Linked DNA regions of Homo sapiens: region 2 is linked to region 1. Evidence: promoter capture Hi-C in 16 types of primary human blood cells and fetal thymus (Javierre and others, 2016). All regions are on one chromosome and are shown on one strand. Each heading gives the region's core, a stretch centred on a gene start or on the middle of the fragment in contact. The rest is flanking DNA. Distances are from core to core; before and after follow the strand shown.

Region 1 (3,707 bases), core at 512-3,011:
TCATTACCAAGGTTTGGGTTTGCATTTTACTGGGAGGAATTCATGTATTTCTGCACAGTACAATCAGACAGACTTAACAGACTGGACACAAGGCATGAAAAAACTATTACTCTATTACGCTGGTGTACTGTTCTTTTAAAATTGTGCTCGGCCAGGCGCGGTGGCTCACGTCTGTAATCCCAGCACTTTGGAAGGTCGAGGCGGGCGGATCACGAGGTCAGGAGATTGGGACCATCCTGGCTAACACGGTGAAACCTCGTCTCTACTAAAAAAAAAAAAAAACAAATACAAAAAAATTAGCCAGGCGTGGTGGCGGGCGCCTGCAGTCCCAGCTACTTGGGAGGCTGAGGCAAAAGACTGACGTGAATCCGGGAGGCGGAGCTTGCAGTGAGCCGAGATGGCGCCACTGCACTCCAGTCTGGGAAACAGAGGGAGACTCCGTCTCAAAAAAAAAAAAAAAAGTGCTCAATTGATCCAGGAAAAGAAACTGTCTAAGACAACTTGGGTATAATTTCCCTTTAAACTACGGAACTCCACCAAAGTAAGCCTGCTTTGTAAAGACAAAGAGAAGCAAGATCTTCACAATTTCTGCAACACTAGCTTCAAAATTAGAATAGCCTTACACTGCTCAAATCTTGGCTGTCAAAGCAAAAATAACCCACTCCTTCATCTACAAGAGCTTAAAAATGTGTCCTGTTTTTGCCAAAACCAAAAAGTTTTATTTAATCTAGAATCTTTCATCCATAGTATTTGAGAAAAGTGATCTCAAATTACACAAGGATGACCTGAAAGTTTAAGGAGTGGAAACTATATAAACCTTTTTATTTATAAAGCTTCCTTGCATGCGAAAACACTGCAAAATATTCTTGTTTGACTTTAATGATTAAACATTAACTCAAACAGCCCATGAGATGCACACTTCATGTTCACATACACTATAAAACAGAAATACCCTTATTTGTGGACGTCGTAAAGGCGCACTGCACTCTTTTTTCAAAGTTAACCCAGGCTAGGCCACGAAACGTCCTTTCTGAAGGAAATCTTAAAAATCTGTAATTTAAATCGTGCCTTTTCAAGCTGGAAGGAGAACGCTCAGATTCCGCCAAGCAAAAAAATAAAAATAAAAATTATCTTTACTTCGTGGGTAGACAAAGTGAGCAGTTACACATTGGAAATGACTATTGTCACAAAGCTCTGCCCCCGGGTTTCACGCTCGCATTCCTGACGGCTGTGACCCCGACCTTTAGGAGAACGCCCCGCGCCGCGAAGCCACCTCGGCCACCTAGGCGGCAGGCCCGCGCCGCCCGGACCGCACCTGCACGCGTACGTGTCCGGCCGAGCTCCGCCCCCGGCCCCCGCCCGGCCTTGCCCGCGGCACAAAGCGCAGCCCAGGCCGGTCCAGACGCCCAGCGACCCCGAGCCGCGGGCCGACCTTGGCGCCGCCCCGAGCCGGCCGCACAAAGCGCCGCACTTCCGGCCTGGACGCGCAGTCGCCCGCTGCCCGCCCCCACTCACCGCGCCGCGGCGGCGACCTGGGCCTCAGTGACCAGCGCACGCCGGCCCGCGGCGGGCTTGGCCGTGGGGCGAAACAAGGGGGGCGTGCCGAGGAGACCTGCTACGATAAGAGGCTGACCCTCCGAGCCCCGCGTCTCCGCCGCCTCCCGGACGCCGCGCTCCCGCTCGCTCGGCTCCGCTTGGCCCGGCCCGCCTCTCCGCAGCCCGCGCTCCCCGCCGACGCTGCGCAGCCACCGGAGCCGCCGACCTCACTTCCGCCTGAGCGCGCCGCGACGGGGGCGCGCCGGGCACGTGACTGCGCAGCGTGCTCGCTCCCGCCGGCGCCCTCGAGACGCCCGGATGGACGAGCGCGAGCGCGAGCGCGGAGTGGGCCGGTCCCAGTTGGCGAAAGGGCCGGGTGTAGCTGTAGTTTTTTTATTAACTGTCTGTGAAAAAAGTATTTAATTTATATTTTGAGATAGTCCCGCGCCGCAGAAACCTTTGTGTGTGCCCAGACGCCAGGGCGCGGATCCTCAGGCCGCACCCGGGAGTCGAGCACACCCCGGGTGACCGCCACTACGGGGTCGGAGCGGGGCGGAGCTCAGCTCACAGATTCTTTGCCAGTGCGGAGGCTGCGGGCGCCCGCTCAGGAGTGCAGATTTTAGAGAATGCAAGTCAGCGTTTCAAGTGTAGAAGTGCGGGATCATTTCTATAGACAAGAGTTCAGGGAAGTGTACTAGAATGTTAGGGGGTTTTTTGGTTTTTTTTTGAGACGGAGTTTCGCTCTTGTCACCCAGGCTGGAGTACAATGGCGCGATCTTGGCTCACTGCAACCTCCGCTTCCCGGGTTCAAGCGATTCTCCTGCCTCAGCCTCCTGAGTAATTGAGATTCCAGGCGCCCGCCACCACACCTGGCTAATTTTTGTGTTAGTAGAGACGGGGGTTTCACCATGTTGGTCAGGCTAGTCTCGAACCCGTGACCTCAGGTGATCCACCCACGTTGGCCTCCCAAAGTGCTGGGATTACAAGTGTGAGCCACCGCACCCGGCCAAATGTTAGTATTTTTATGTAAGGCTTAGTGTATAGTTACAATGATTTGGTTAGTTCAGGGTGTCTCTCTGGGGGAGGTATGTTTATTATTTCGTATTAAAGAGGTGCGTGTCTTGGTGTTTGTGTTTGGGGTGTCGTCTGGTCTGAGCTAGGTACAGGACGACAAAGGAGGGAGTTATTGCAATAAAGATTAGTGATGGAAGGGAGGAGGCCTGGCTCTGGTCTTTTTTCAGTCGTTTATGAAATAAAAACAGATGGGCGCGGTGTCTCACGCCTTTAATCCCGGCACTTATAGGAGGCCGAGGCGGGCAGATCACGAGGTCAGGAGTTCAAGACCAGCCTGGCCAACATAGTGAAACCGCGTCTCTACTAAAAATACAAAAATTAGCTGCGCGTGGTGGCGCACATCTGTAACCTTAGCTGCTCTGGAGGCTGAGGCAGGAGAATCTCTTGAACCCGGGAGGCGGAGGTTGCAGTGAGCCGAGATCGGGCCACTGCACTCCAGCCTGGGCGACAGAGGAAGACTCCGTCTCAAAAAAAAAAATAAAAATAAAATATAAATGTGATAAAAGGACAAGAAGAAAACATGGGGAAATTCCTTTTTAGTATTGGAGTAAAGAAGGCTTTTCTACATTATTACTTGAAATCCAGAAGTCATGACTATGAAAAGCTTTGGTCGGCAAAAAGCACCATAAGCAAAGTCAAAAGATAAATGATTAACAAGGAAGAAATAGTCCCAACACATGTAATAGACAAAGCTAATCTCTTTAATATTCCAAAAGCTTCCAGAAGTCAACAATAAAAAGCCCTACCACCCAATAGAAAAAGGAGAGTTCACAGCAAAGGACTAAGTCTGGCTGTTAGTCATATGAAAAATATCCAATCTCACTTCTATAAAGAAAAATGCAAGTTAAAACTCTTTGAGGTAGCAGTTTTCACTGTGATTGGCAAACATCCAAAAAATTGACAATGCTATTGGTAAGGCTGCCAGGAAGCTCGCACTCTCAGACATTGCTGGATGGGAAAGGGGATCGTCTGATGATGTGTGTCAAAATAAACGCACAAACAATGTTTCATTCAACAGCTGCACTTCTGGGAGTTTGCCTACAGAGATACTTATAGATGTGTGAAATAAAATGAGTTCACACCTATTAATTGCAGCA
Region 2 (3,707 bases), core at 309-2,808, 5.0 Mb after region 1:
CCGGCTCCTTTTTATCAAAGGCCATTGCTATATCCATGGTGGTCTCCTCCCTGACCTCACTTCACACAGATTGCAGCAGTGATTTTTCTTTCCTTTCTTTTCTTTTTTGAGACAGTGTGTTGCTCTGTTGTCTAGGCTGGAATGCAGAGGCATAATCATGGCTCACTGCAGCCTCTGCCTCCTGAGTCAAGTGATCCTCCCACCTTAGTCTCTCGAGTAGTTAGGACTACAGACACAGGCCACCATGCCCGTCTAACTTTTATTTTTTTGGAGACAAGATCTCGAGATGTTGCCCAGGGTGTCTCGAACTCCTGGGCTCAAGCCATCCTCCCACCTTGGCGGCCTCCCAAAGTGCTGGGATTTCAGGCGTGAGCCTCCACGCCTGGGCCAGGAGTGATTTTTCTATGGGAGTTATTATCCACTCATTTCTGCACCACCTTCTGCATTGATAGAAATCCTTTTCATCTTAGAGCCCATTTTCCATCCCATGTCCTGGGTAAAAGCTTCCTGATGGATATTCAGTTCCTTACTTCCCCAAATGCTTGCTGAGCACTCTGTCCCAGGCACCAGACATAGGGATAAAGGCAGTGCACAAGGCCGACCAGGAACCTGTCCTCATGGAGCTCACAAGGATCCAGACAAGTGCACCTGCACTTATAGTTCAACCTAAACCAAACGTGGAAGGCTTTCCAAAAGAGATGACCTCAAAACTAAGACAAAACAAGTAAATGGGAGTTAATGAGGTGAAGGGGGTAAAGTGAGGTGTTTTGCTTTTCCTTGCACTCATGGTATGAAGCATCTTCTGGCACTCTGTTTTGCATCAGCTTGTGTTGTTTCTATGCTCAATGTAGGCATGCTGTTTGTTACCTTTAAGGTGCTATAACTCTTTGAGAGCCAGAGAGTGTGGTACTTTTCCACTTATCCTTCTCAAGTTTTAGCACAGTATGGTATAGTTTGCAAGGAAGGAAAGTAGCATTTAAGGAGGGCCCATTGTGTGTCTGTCACTTTGTGTGCAAGAGGTAAAAGCTACTGTGTTACTGAAAGGAATGGGAAGCCATACAGTTAGGGCAGTGCCACAGGCTGGAAATCAGGATAGTGGTTGTATTTTTGTCTCCACTGCTGAGTGGGTGTGTGATTTTGGGTGAATCTCTAAACTTCCTCTGGGCCTGACCTGATTTCCTCATCAGTGGAATGAAGGTATTCCACTCCAGCATCTTCCAGCTCTGTCATCTACTTTTTCCTGTGGCCTTGCAGGCCATCTGGTTGTTGTTGAACTGGTGGGAAGACAACTGCAGAAGTTAGTTCAGGGGTTAAATCTGGAAACCCAATGTGGAAATGAAACCGCAGCCCTGAATACATTAAGTGCTGGGTTAGTTGGAGACTAAGGAAAGAAAGTCCCTGAGGAATGAGCCCATGTGAGCTTTAGCGCCTCTGTGCCCACTACCAGGAGCCCCCAGTGCAAGCTATCAGCCAGGGAGGAACAGTGTTTGCTCGGGCTTTGCTCTGTGGGCATGCAGAGCTTCCACCCGGCAGCATCTACACCTGCGGTCTTGTAACCTAGCTACAGAAATAGCAAGTATGTGCGCAGAAGGCAAGTTGATGAGCTAGACAGTGGGTACAGACACTTACAGCAGAACTTTGGTGCTGAAAACACCTAGTTCAGGACATCATGTACTAACTCAAGGGTGCCTCCCCCTTTTTGTCTCTCTTAAATTTTTCAAAACAGGAAGAAACTTTTCTTCAACTGCAGGCACCAATAACCTATGACCTTCTAGAGAGATCATTTTGGAAACCATCTAAGAAAGCTACCCTCACTGAGGGGATGCTAGTCACTCTTTTCCCCTCTCCCCACAACTCCCCACCCTCCTTTTTTTTTTGTAACTCTGGGCTTCTGGCAACAGTTTGGAAGGTTGGCACAAGGCCATCTGAAACCACAGTGGGGTGTTAGGTAATCTGTTCTCATTAAAATGCTGTTCTGTGGTTTAATTTTCAACGGTTTCTTTGCAGCTTGAAAACACACATACTATATTTTTTGAGGTAAGGAGAGATGGCTGTTACAGAGGCAAAAAGGCGGGAAGATGGGGTACCCCTAAGACACTTCCTGGTATGTTTCCAGAAAAGAAACAGCTGCTTTCATTCTAGAGGGGGCAAATTGAGCCTAAGGCAGCATTTAGGGAGCTTCCTGGACATAACTGACTCTAGGGACAAATGCTTCAAACACATCTGAAAACTCTCCAGATTGAAAGGATCAAATCATATGACCATTCCCCCACTTAGTCATTGAATTGAGCACTTTTATTGACTGTCTACCAAGTGCCAGGCACTGGGAGACATTTCAAATCACACCTGAGGACAGAGAGACAGAAACCACTGCCCAGCAGGAGATCACCACCAGGTGGTTGATGACAAATAGGGCGGTGCAGTACAGTGGGGTAAGCAAGCTGCTTGTTTCTTCTCATCCTCACCTTCATGGAATTCCCACCTTTTGAAGTGTATCAGTGAAGATAGCAAACTAAAGCCCAGGGTTATCATTTCTTTCTAAAAAAGAGAATTGCAACACATTCAAATGCTCTCATTGCCACAAAAAGGCCTTAAGGTTGCCAAGTTTTGAGTTCAAGCTTTAGATGAGTTGCATTCTGTCATGAGCAGCATAACCTCTGTAGGGGTGGTAGGGTGTAACCCCTTTCCTACCCATCATAAGGGTTACAGCCAATACTGCTATAACAAAAGACAGGTTAACAAGAGAAAAACATAGCAAATGTATTAATCAAAGTTTATATGACATAAAAGCCTTCAGAAATGAAGACTCAAAGACCCAGAGAAAGCTGTTTTTATGCTTAGGTTTAATGAAGAATGGACAGCGGGTAGAAATGTGATTGGAGAAAGGGTATGGTGTAATGGTGATAGACTGAGGGGGATATCCAGGGAGGCTGTCTGTTCAAATTCTTCTTGGCCTCTCTGTGCAGCATTCCCTCCTCCCAGGTATGGGGGCAGGACCCTCCGGAATGAAGGTCTTCAAAGGAGAAGGGAGAGAGTGACCTTTCTGGTTTTATGGCTTGCTTTAAGGGAGAGGGGTTCTATTTTCTATGATCTGCCGTGGGGAAGGAGAATTCTAGTTTGTATGGCTCACTTTGGGGGAGAAATGAAGAGAGGTGGAAGACAGGAGGGGAGAAGAAGGTCAGAAAGACTTTGCTTCTGAGGTCTTCCAATCTCCTTTAGTTCAAAGTACTCAGCGTGCCCAAGTGCCATGCTCTGGGTTGCTGCATTCTAAGTCCCAGCACCACTCACCAGCAAGACTAGGGTGCCATCCTCATGCTGATAACAGTGGGTAGTTCAGACAGTCTTCTAGGAACTGTCTCACCTCCCCCACAGCTTCCCCCTTCTTTGTCCCAACCTTCTTGACTGACTCATTCCCACCTCACACAGCTCTGGCTCTGTGACCATGACCTTCGTCCTTAACTTGGCCATTCCCAGCATCTTGGCTTTCTTCCTAGTTCTTCTCTTTGGCTCTAAGCAATGCTGAGGCTCAAGGAACCTAGGCTAACCCCTATCTCTCAGGGTGACAGAAAAGCTCCAAAGGATGATGTCCAGGTGCGACGAAGATGGCCCCCCAGTAAACTGAACTAACCAAATTCAGCCCCAGGCAAGTTGGACAGGGCAATTTTGACCCAGGTCTGATTTGAACATTACTAACCAGATGAGCATTT

The links. Contacts are between HindIII fragments. The CHiCAGO score rates a contact against its expected background, and 5 or more counts as called.
Region 2: a fragment that was not itself captured here is called in contact with the fragment with the promoter of FAM168B in region 1 in 1 of 17 cell types (fetal thymus); the score reaches 7.6 in fetal thymus.

The regions. Positions count from the first base shown.
Region 1 is chr2:131,091,699-131,095,405 of GRCh38, forward strand. FAM168B (family with sequence similarity 168 member B) reads right to left here and starts at 1,762. Exons shown (of 7, transcript NM_001009993.4): 1 at 1,516-1,762. RefSeq lists a silencer at 1,216-1,935. The HindIII fragment of the contact is 2,381 bases long and covers 832-3,212 here.
Region 2 is chr2:136,134,767-136,138,473 of GRCh38, forward strand. No RefSeq gene overlaps it. Among named protein-coding and RNA genes, the nearest start is that of CXCR4, 18 kb to the left of the region's middle. RefSeq lists an enhancer at 1,862-1,911. The HindIII fragment of the contact is 2,115 bases long and covers 502-2,616 here.